Regions from separate parts of the Homo sapiens genome. Here region 2 is linked to region 1. The links are contacts of gene promoters, found by promoter capture Hi-C in blood cells and fetal thymus (Javierre and others, 2016). All regions are on one chromosome and are shown on one strand. Each heading gives the region's core, a stretch centred on a gene start or on the middle of the fragment in contact. The rest is flanking DNA. Distances are from core to core; before and after follow the strand shown.

The links. The method cuts DNA at HindIII sites, captures the fragments that hold promoters and counts their contacts. A CHiCAGO score of 5 or more calls a contact.
Region 2: a contact is called between the fragment with the promoter of OR5D14 here and the fragment with the promoter of OR5W2 in region 1, in 5 of 17 cell types (neutrophils, naive B cells, total CD4 T cells and 2 more). The highest score is 5.8, in neutrophils.

What each region holds. Positions count from the first base shown.
Region 1 is chr11:55,911,992-55,916,236 of GRCh38, reverse strand. It overlaps OR5W2 (olfactory receptor family 5 subfamily W member 2), which reads left to right and starts at 1,655. Exons shown (of 1, transcript NM_001001960.1): 1 at 1,655-2,587. The coding sequence starts at 1,655. The coding sequence ends at 2,587. The HindIII fragment of the contact is 7,753 bases long and covers 1-4,119 here.
Region 2 is chr11:55,794,015-55,798,223 of GRCh38, reverse strand. OR5D14 (olfactory receptor family 5 subfamily D member 14) reads right to left here and starts at 2,668. Exons shown (of 1, transcript NM_001004735.1): 1 at 1,724-2,668. The coding sequence starts at 2,668. The coding sequence ends at 1,724. The HindIII fragment of the contact is 1,368 bases long and covers 2,599-3,966 here.

The DNA.
Region 1 (4,245 bases), core at 406-2,905:
CAGGATGAACAATGAAAAGGACAAGAAAACCATTAAGTTGAAAATCTACTCAAGTTTCATTGGCTGTCTTATTTCATGATAACCATGAAGCATACTGTTAAATGAATTCTGATAAATTTCTAACATTGGTCAATTTGGTGATAAAGCTGAAAAATTAAAAATGGAGCCTTTGGTAAACTAGTTGCAGCATTCACTGGGGAAAATACAGAACTAGGAATCTAATTAATCATGTTTGAATAACATAAAGGAGTGAAGGCAGAGGCTTGAGAGATTTATGTCCCAACAGTCACCAGTAAAAATAAAATGTGATCTGCCTATTGTTCACATACCAGAGGTAAGGACAGAAAGACTTGCTCATCTCAGGTAGGTTTCTGAATGATCAATTTAAAGGACAGAGGAAAAATTTTGGAAAAATAAGAAATCATGTATTAAGGAATTTACAAATGAATGATTTTATAGATGCTTACTCAGTTGAAGCACCTCTGGAATCTAATGGCCAAACAATGATATTTTCTTATTGGATCTGTGTGAATTTGACTGACCTTACTTGTCATTGTAAGAGGATAATATAGATTTCACCCATTTATATTTTAATCAACCTTCATAAGTAAATCATTACTTTAAAAAATCACTGTACCTGTGATATTATTTTAGATGTAAATTTAAGATAGGTTCTAGATTTACTCAAATAATAATAGAGGTAACACATTACAGATATTAATTTATGAAAATTCAAGTTCTTAAGGTACATGCCATAATATTTAAGTCTAGAAGAAATAACAATCAGACCCACCCCACATTTCAATTTTCATATAACAGACACACACAGGCACACACACACACACAAGAGTAAGTGCACATATAACACAAGCAACAGAAGCCTATATATTTCAGAAACACTTATTGTTCTTCACATTTTGATTTTAATGAAAAAGTCAATTATAAGCAAATATAAGTAGTCTGTTGTTCACACTTCTTTTACCACTTACATTTGGCTTTTGTTTTTTAGAACCAGATAAGTCATCCAAATGGATTATAAATGCTGTGACAAACCAGTGATGATGAGTAACAGTTAAATAAAACATTTTTCTTTTCCAGTAAGCACTAACGACACCACATCAAAAACAGTACCATAATAATTTTCTCTTATTAACTTACATGTAATATCACTGTCAGTGGTAGAAAAATGTATATATTTCTTGAATAATGCAATAAATATGATCCTTTTTTGTCAAATATATGAGATGCTTAGTCCGGTATGTTCTGGCCCTTGTGACTCTAACTATGGTGTTTCTTTCACATCCTTTTGGATCTGTACTGAGCTTTCAGTTTAATCAAATTGACTGCCTTAGATTGTACAATAGAAGCAAAGACAAATGATATATGTCAGAAATTGCATGTAAGTTTAGATTCAAAGTTGATCAACTTCCTTTGGCAGACACTTTTAGGGTTTTTTTTTTTTAATACAGTAATAATGCCTCTTTGAAAGTGACACTCACCTGGGATACTTTTTGAGGGTAAAGAAGATAATTTACATAAACAAATCTTGTTCTACTTTACAGATAATTTTTTTTTTGATATCTTGGAAAGTCAAGTTCTAGACTGTCATTCTCGTAATGATTTCTGTAGCAGTTTGAAACAAGAACAAGGAAGAATGGACTGGGAAAATTGCTCCTCATTAACTGATTTTTTTCTCTTGGGAATTACCAATAACCCAGAGATGAAAGTGACCCTATTTGCTGTATTCTTGGCTGTTTATATCATTAATTTCTCAGCAAATCTTGGAATGATAGTTTTAATCAGAATGGATTACCAACTTCACACACCAATGTATTTCTTCCTCAGTCATCTGTCTTTCTGTGATCTCTGCTATTCTACTGCAACTGGGCCCAAGATGCTGGTAGATCTACTTGCCAAGAACAAGTCAATACCCTTCTATGGCTGTGCTCTGCAATTCTTGGTCTTCTGTATCTTTGCAGATTCTGAGTGTCTACTGCTGTCAGTGATGGCCTTTGATCGGTACAAGGCCATCATCAACCCCCTGCTCTATACAGTCAACATGTCTAGCAGAGTGTGCTATCTACTCTTGACTGGGGTTTATCTGGTGGGAATAGCAGATGCTTTGATACATATGACACTGGCCTTCCGCCTATGCTTCTGTGGGTCTAATGAGATTAATCATTTCTTCTGTGATATCCCTCCTCTCTTATTACTCTCTCGCTCAGATACACAGGTCAATGAGTTAGTGTTATTCACCGTCTTTGGTTTTATTGAACTGAGTACCATTTCAGGAGTTTTCATTTCTTATTGTTATATCATCCTATCAGTCTTGGAGATACACTCTGCTGAGGGGAGGTTCAAAGCTCTCTCTACATGCACTTCCCACTTATCTGCGGTTGCAATTTTCCAGGGAACTCTGCTCTTTATGTATTTCCGGCCAAGTTCTTCCTATTCTCTAGATCAAGATAAAATGACCTCATTGTTTTACACCCTTGTGGTTCCCATGTTGAACCCCCTGATTTATAGCCTGAGGAACAAGGATGTGAAAGAGGCCCTGAAAAAACTGAAAAATAAAATTTTATTTTAAGGAAATAGTAAAAATACATGTTTATACACACAAAAATGCATATTCATACTGGTGTTTTCTTCAAATTATATATTATAACATAAAGTTGTCTCAAATACCCTAATTTAATATAATACATATTTTACTCAGCCACAATCTAGCAATTCTCTGGAATTGTCTAAATATGCTATTTTTTTAATGTGTTTTCAATTTAGGTAAGGTAATTTCTCTATATTTGAAAAATGCTCCAGTCTTTGAGTTAGTGGGGCAAATTTTTATTTGTTTAATATATATTTCAGAGTAATTTTTCTTTTTTTCTTTTCTTTTTTTTTTTGTGATGGAATCTGACCCTATTGCCCAGGTTGGAGTGTAGTGGTGCAATCTCGGCTCACTGCAACCTCCGCCTCCCTGGTTCAAGTGATTCTCATGCTTCAGCCTCCCGAGTAGCTGGGATTACAGGTGCCTGCCACCAGGCCCGGCTAATTTTTGTGTTTTCAGTAGAGATGGGGTTCCAACATTTTGACCAGGCTGGTCTCGAACTCCTGACCTCAGGCGATCCACCCATCTTGGCCCCACAAAGTGGTGGGATTACGGGCGTGACAGGCAGTAATTTTTCTAAGACTTATTGAGTGTTTAGTACATGCCTTTCACATTGCTGTGTACTTTGCATTTCATGCTGAATCCACTATATTCTGTACTAGTGAGTCATAGAATATAGTGGAAACATTTAATTAATCAAACTAACCAATAATTCATAATAAACTATAAAAGGCCATGAAGTCAAAAGGCAGGGTACTGTAAGCATAAACAAAATGTCTAACTAGAGTGAAGAAAAGAAAAGATTCTTTGAAATGGGGACATTTGGTTTTAGATCTAAAAATTCATAGAGATCCAATGGGTGGGTGGAGAGAAGAAAGGATTCTAGATAGAGAGGCTGAAAATTAGACATCCTGAGGTGGACAGGGCAATGCCTTTTTAGAGGAAAGGAAGTCCAACATGTAAGAATTGAAGGATAAAGTGGTACATGCAGTAAAGTCTAGTTGAGTTGATATTCTCTATTCATTTCCACTCTGCTTCTCTTCCCTTCTTCCTATTTCTAGCCCTATTTAAATGTCCCTCTTGTGGTTCATATATAATACTCTTTCAAAGGTACTATTCTATCTATCAGTCTGTTTATTGAACAAACACCACGAGTGTGAGACTGCAAGCATTCTTTGCTCAAAGACTGCATGTGTTATGCCTGTCATCCCAACCAAAGCATCTGCATGGTTTCTGGGTCACCAAATGGAAAAATAGATAAATAATAAAAACCAACACACGGTATAACATTTTTGAATGTTTGTGAGATATCAAAGTCTAGTTAAGTGAGGGTATAATGTGTGCTTTGAATATATATTTTATAGGTTTTTAAAAAACTTTTAAATTTAGGGGTACAAGTGAAAGTTTGTTACATTGGTAAACTTGTGTCATGGGGGTTTGTTGTACAGATTATTTCCTAACCTAGGAATGTGGCCATATATTTGCAAAATCATACAAAACCCAGGTAAAAAGCTTAGTACCCATTAGTTATTTTTTCCTAATCCTCTCCTGTCTCCCACCCTCCACGCTCCAAAAGGCCCCAGTGTGTGTCTCCAAAAGGCCTCCTCTATGTGCCCATGTTTTCTCATCACTAAGCTCTA
Region 2 (4,209 bases), core at 1,419-3,918, 120 kb after region 1:
CACTGTTATATTTTTAATACTATTAAATGCCCAATCTGTGTTTAAATTACCCCAATTGTCTCAACGACATACTTTTCCAGTTAGTTTGGATCAAGAGTCAAATAGTTGTGGTTGTTATAGCCAGTTTACTTTGTTATATAACCATTCTTTGTGTGAGAGCCTGTGTGTGTGTGTGTGTGTGTGTGTGTGTATACCCACATGTTAGGTAATATTTTGCAAGGGAAAATAATAATTCAGCACTCTCTGTATTTTGCTTAGTGCTTTATTTTGTGTCATTTTATTTATTTCTGTACTAATTCTTTTTAACTAATGCTGAGACCAAGAATATTTATTAGCTTAGTTTCCTTCTTTTACTTTTTTTTAACAAAGCAAAAATTCTGGCTGGGTGTGGTGGCTCACGCCTGTAATCTCAGCAGTTTGGGAGGCCAAGGGGGGCAGATGACGAGGTCAGGAGATCAAGACCATCCTGGCCAACATGGTGAAACCCCGTCTCCACTAAATATACAAAAATTAGCCAGGCATGGTGGTGCACACCTGTAGTCCCAGCTACTCAGGAGGCTGAGACAGGAGAATCTCTTGAACGCAGGAGGTGGAGGTTGCTGTGAGCTGAGATCTTGCCACTGCACTCCAGCCTGGCAACAGAGTGAGACTGTCTCAAAAAAAAAAAAAAAGCAAAAATTCTTCATAGATGATTCTGACTACTGTACATTGCAGTCCATTGAGAAGCACATGGTAACTGGTTGATGATAACTGTTTGTCCAACTTTTAGTGATGATCATTCTGATCTCTGAATTCAGGTTGTGTCAACTTAGTTACTTCATCTTAAAATTATCCACAAACTTTTTGCCTAATGATTATTATGTCTGTTGAAATCATTACCTTTATTCATTTTTTAAATGTGGAGTTCTACAGTTGTGATTGTCCAATTTCATCCTTGTTTATGCTTTTATTTCTTCTGAAATTCACCTCATTAATCAGTAGGTGATGCTGACATACTATTCATATAGGAAAAATAGAATAAATATATATATTATTTAATTACTTATTTTCAGAGTAATGAATTGGTGCCCTAATATCCATTGATATTAAACAATGGCTTATTTATTTTTTTCTTTTTCAGTACCTAGATTTAAATCTATATGAGGACTTTAAATCAATTGTAATCAATATCCATTTTTATGTTTAAAAAGTTTTTTCTGACCATAAACCAGCATCAGCCATTTCAAATTGCTTCCTATATCTCTTTGAGACAATCTGATTAGCTGCTGATAGTATTCTATCTTTCTGGAGCATTAAATTGCCCAAAGCTCATCTTGCCTATTTTCCACCCTAGACTTCAAATTAGCCATTTCTCCAAGAAGCCCTAGTTTTGTTCCTAGGGGAAAGGTTTCTTTTTAGAGAAAATTTGGAGAATGTTGCTTGAATTTGTATAGTATTTGTTACCAAATATTTGTGTTTATTTAGTCATTCATATAAAAGTTAGAAATAATTTTGAAATATGGTTTCTCATTGTTTTCAGATTAAATGTTTATTTTCATTCATTTTGTATAAACTGGACTAAACTTGTAGAGATTTCTGAACCTGATAATACTGGGAATGCTATATCAATTCACATTTGACAATTCCATAAAAACCTCATATAAATATATGCTCTAGGCTTTAGAAACATTGTAGCCTCTGTTTGGGTTGTTCATTTGGATTGAAAACAACTTTTGAGACTGGTTCAGTGAAATGGAACTTGTGTATGTATTAACTTCCAGAAAGCATCCTTCACGTCTTTATTCCTTAGGCTGTAGATCAGAGGGTTCAGCATGGGGTTGACAACTGTGTAAAATACAGAGGCCACTTTGACTGTTTGCCGAGAGTTTTTGGAGTTGGGTACACAGTAAAGGAAAAGGATGGTCCCATGGAAGATGGTGATAGAAGTCAGGTGGGAGGCCCAGGTGGAGAAGGCTTTGTGGCGCCCACTAACAGAACGGATTTTTAGTACAGTCACAAAAATGAAAACATAGGAAGTGAGGATGATCAGTAGTGTACACATCTCATTGAAGGTGGCGAAGCTGAAAAGCAGCAGGTGGGGGATGAGTATATCAGAGCCAGACACAGAGATGAGAGCAGTATACTCACAAAAGAAGTGGTTGATTACATTAGGTCCAGAGAAGTTTAACCGGAGAGCATAACAAAGGAGTACCAAGGGGCCAAACATGCCCCAGAGATATGACCCAGCCACCAGCAGGGCACAGAGCCTCTGTGACATGGCCACTGTATAAAGCAGAGGATTGCAGATGGCCACAAAGCGGTCATAGGCCATCACTGCCAGCAAGAAAGACTCTGTCACCACAGCAGTGCAGGACAGGAAGTACTGCATCATGCAGCTAAAGTAGAAGATGCTTTTATCTGCCATTACCAAGTTCTCAAGCAGCTTGGGAGTGACAATGGAAGAGTAACAAAAATCAACAAAAGAGAGGTGACTAAGGAAAAAGTACATAGGAGTGTGAAATTTGGGGTTAATCTTGATTATTATGATCATCCCAAGGTTTCCTACCACTGTGATAACATACATGAGCAGAAACACAAGGAAGAGAGGAATCTGAAGCTTTGGGTAATCTGTGAAACCTAAAAGGGCAAAGGTGGGCTCCATGCTCAGATTCCTTAAAACCATCATCATAATTCCTTTTAATGGAAGGGTTGAAGAGAATTGTTCCTGCCAAAGCAAAATATGGGGTGAGTGATAATTATGTCATGACTTTCTTTGATTAAAAGGAAAAAAGGAGAAGGAATAGTTACTGGTCCTAGTTTTGTCCAAGAAGAACATACCTCATGCAGGCAGCTGTTATGTCTAAAACAAACCAAGCCAAGTCTTTGGAGTGTCTTTCCATTTTTATTACACTTTCTGTTTTCATACATATATATATGTGTGAATATATATGTGTATGTGTATGTGTGTGTATATGTGTACAGTAGTATACATGTCTACACATTAACTAGTAGCATGACATGCACATAACTTATAGAAAATGTTTATACATAAATATATAAACTAATAAAGATTCTGTGGAAAATGTAAAATATTTACATCAAACAACAACATGCATTGCTACTGTATTTGTTTATATAGACAAATTGATTAAAATATTCAGAATATATTTCTATTCTAAGGATAAAGGAAAATATTGTAGAAATCTGGAAAAAGAGCACACTAATTCCACTTTTTACCAACTTTTATTCTAGAAAGGCTACTTCTCTCATTGAATATCTTAGTTGCTGAGGAGTTGACAAGGACAATGGCCTACTTTTGACCTCTTGGTGGAATGGGCATTTTATTGGGGTTTATGACTTAAGGGTCAGCATCTACTATAGCTCAGGTATTGCATAAGTATCTTATAAGAGTCTCAAGATTTATCAGGTGAAAGTTCCCTTAAGCCTGACTAGTTTTCAATCTTATAAAAATTTACACACTAATTTAAGATGAATATAAAGGAAATATGGATAAATATCCATTTCCAAGTAGCAAGTTTATACTATTCATCATGAGATAATTTTCAATGGATATAAGGCTAAATATTTTCATGAGTGTTGACCTCATTTTTTAATATTATTGGGCACAGAATTGAATAACACAGTGATTTAACATTTAAAAAATCAAAGGCCCCATTTGCCGTATCAGGAAGACCCTATTTTCAGTTTCATAGAAAGCCTGAATACACTTACCTGCTACATACAAAGAAACAGGCTGCCACCCTCCTGTCTCTTCAGACAGTGTATACCTGAGGCACCAAGACTCTTTCATTTAACTTCATAGCCCTAGGGACTCAAACTCTGGAGAATCACTAACAACTTACTCTTTACAAGCATCAAAACAGGCAATTAAGGCAAATACCAAGTCTCTTGTGTCACATTTAGTGACTGGAATTTCCTTGAAACTACTCAGAAAAAAAAATGCAGCATGAAGTTAACTATCAAGCTTTGCTTGCATGTAATTCAAATTACAATAAAACTTTAAATACTTGCCTCATCTGTTCCAAAATTCAGTGCACCTCTTAGTGAGATATAATCTATCCTGCATGCATCCTGGGTATAAATATGCAGCAGCCAATAGCACTCCTATTCCTGAAAACACAAGTAAATTTCATAATCAAGTGCTACAGATGTCCGTGGCCCATACCTTGCTGTATTGCTTCTTCTTGCTCAGCCTGAATTTGTGTCTCA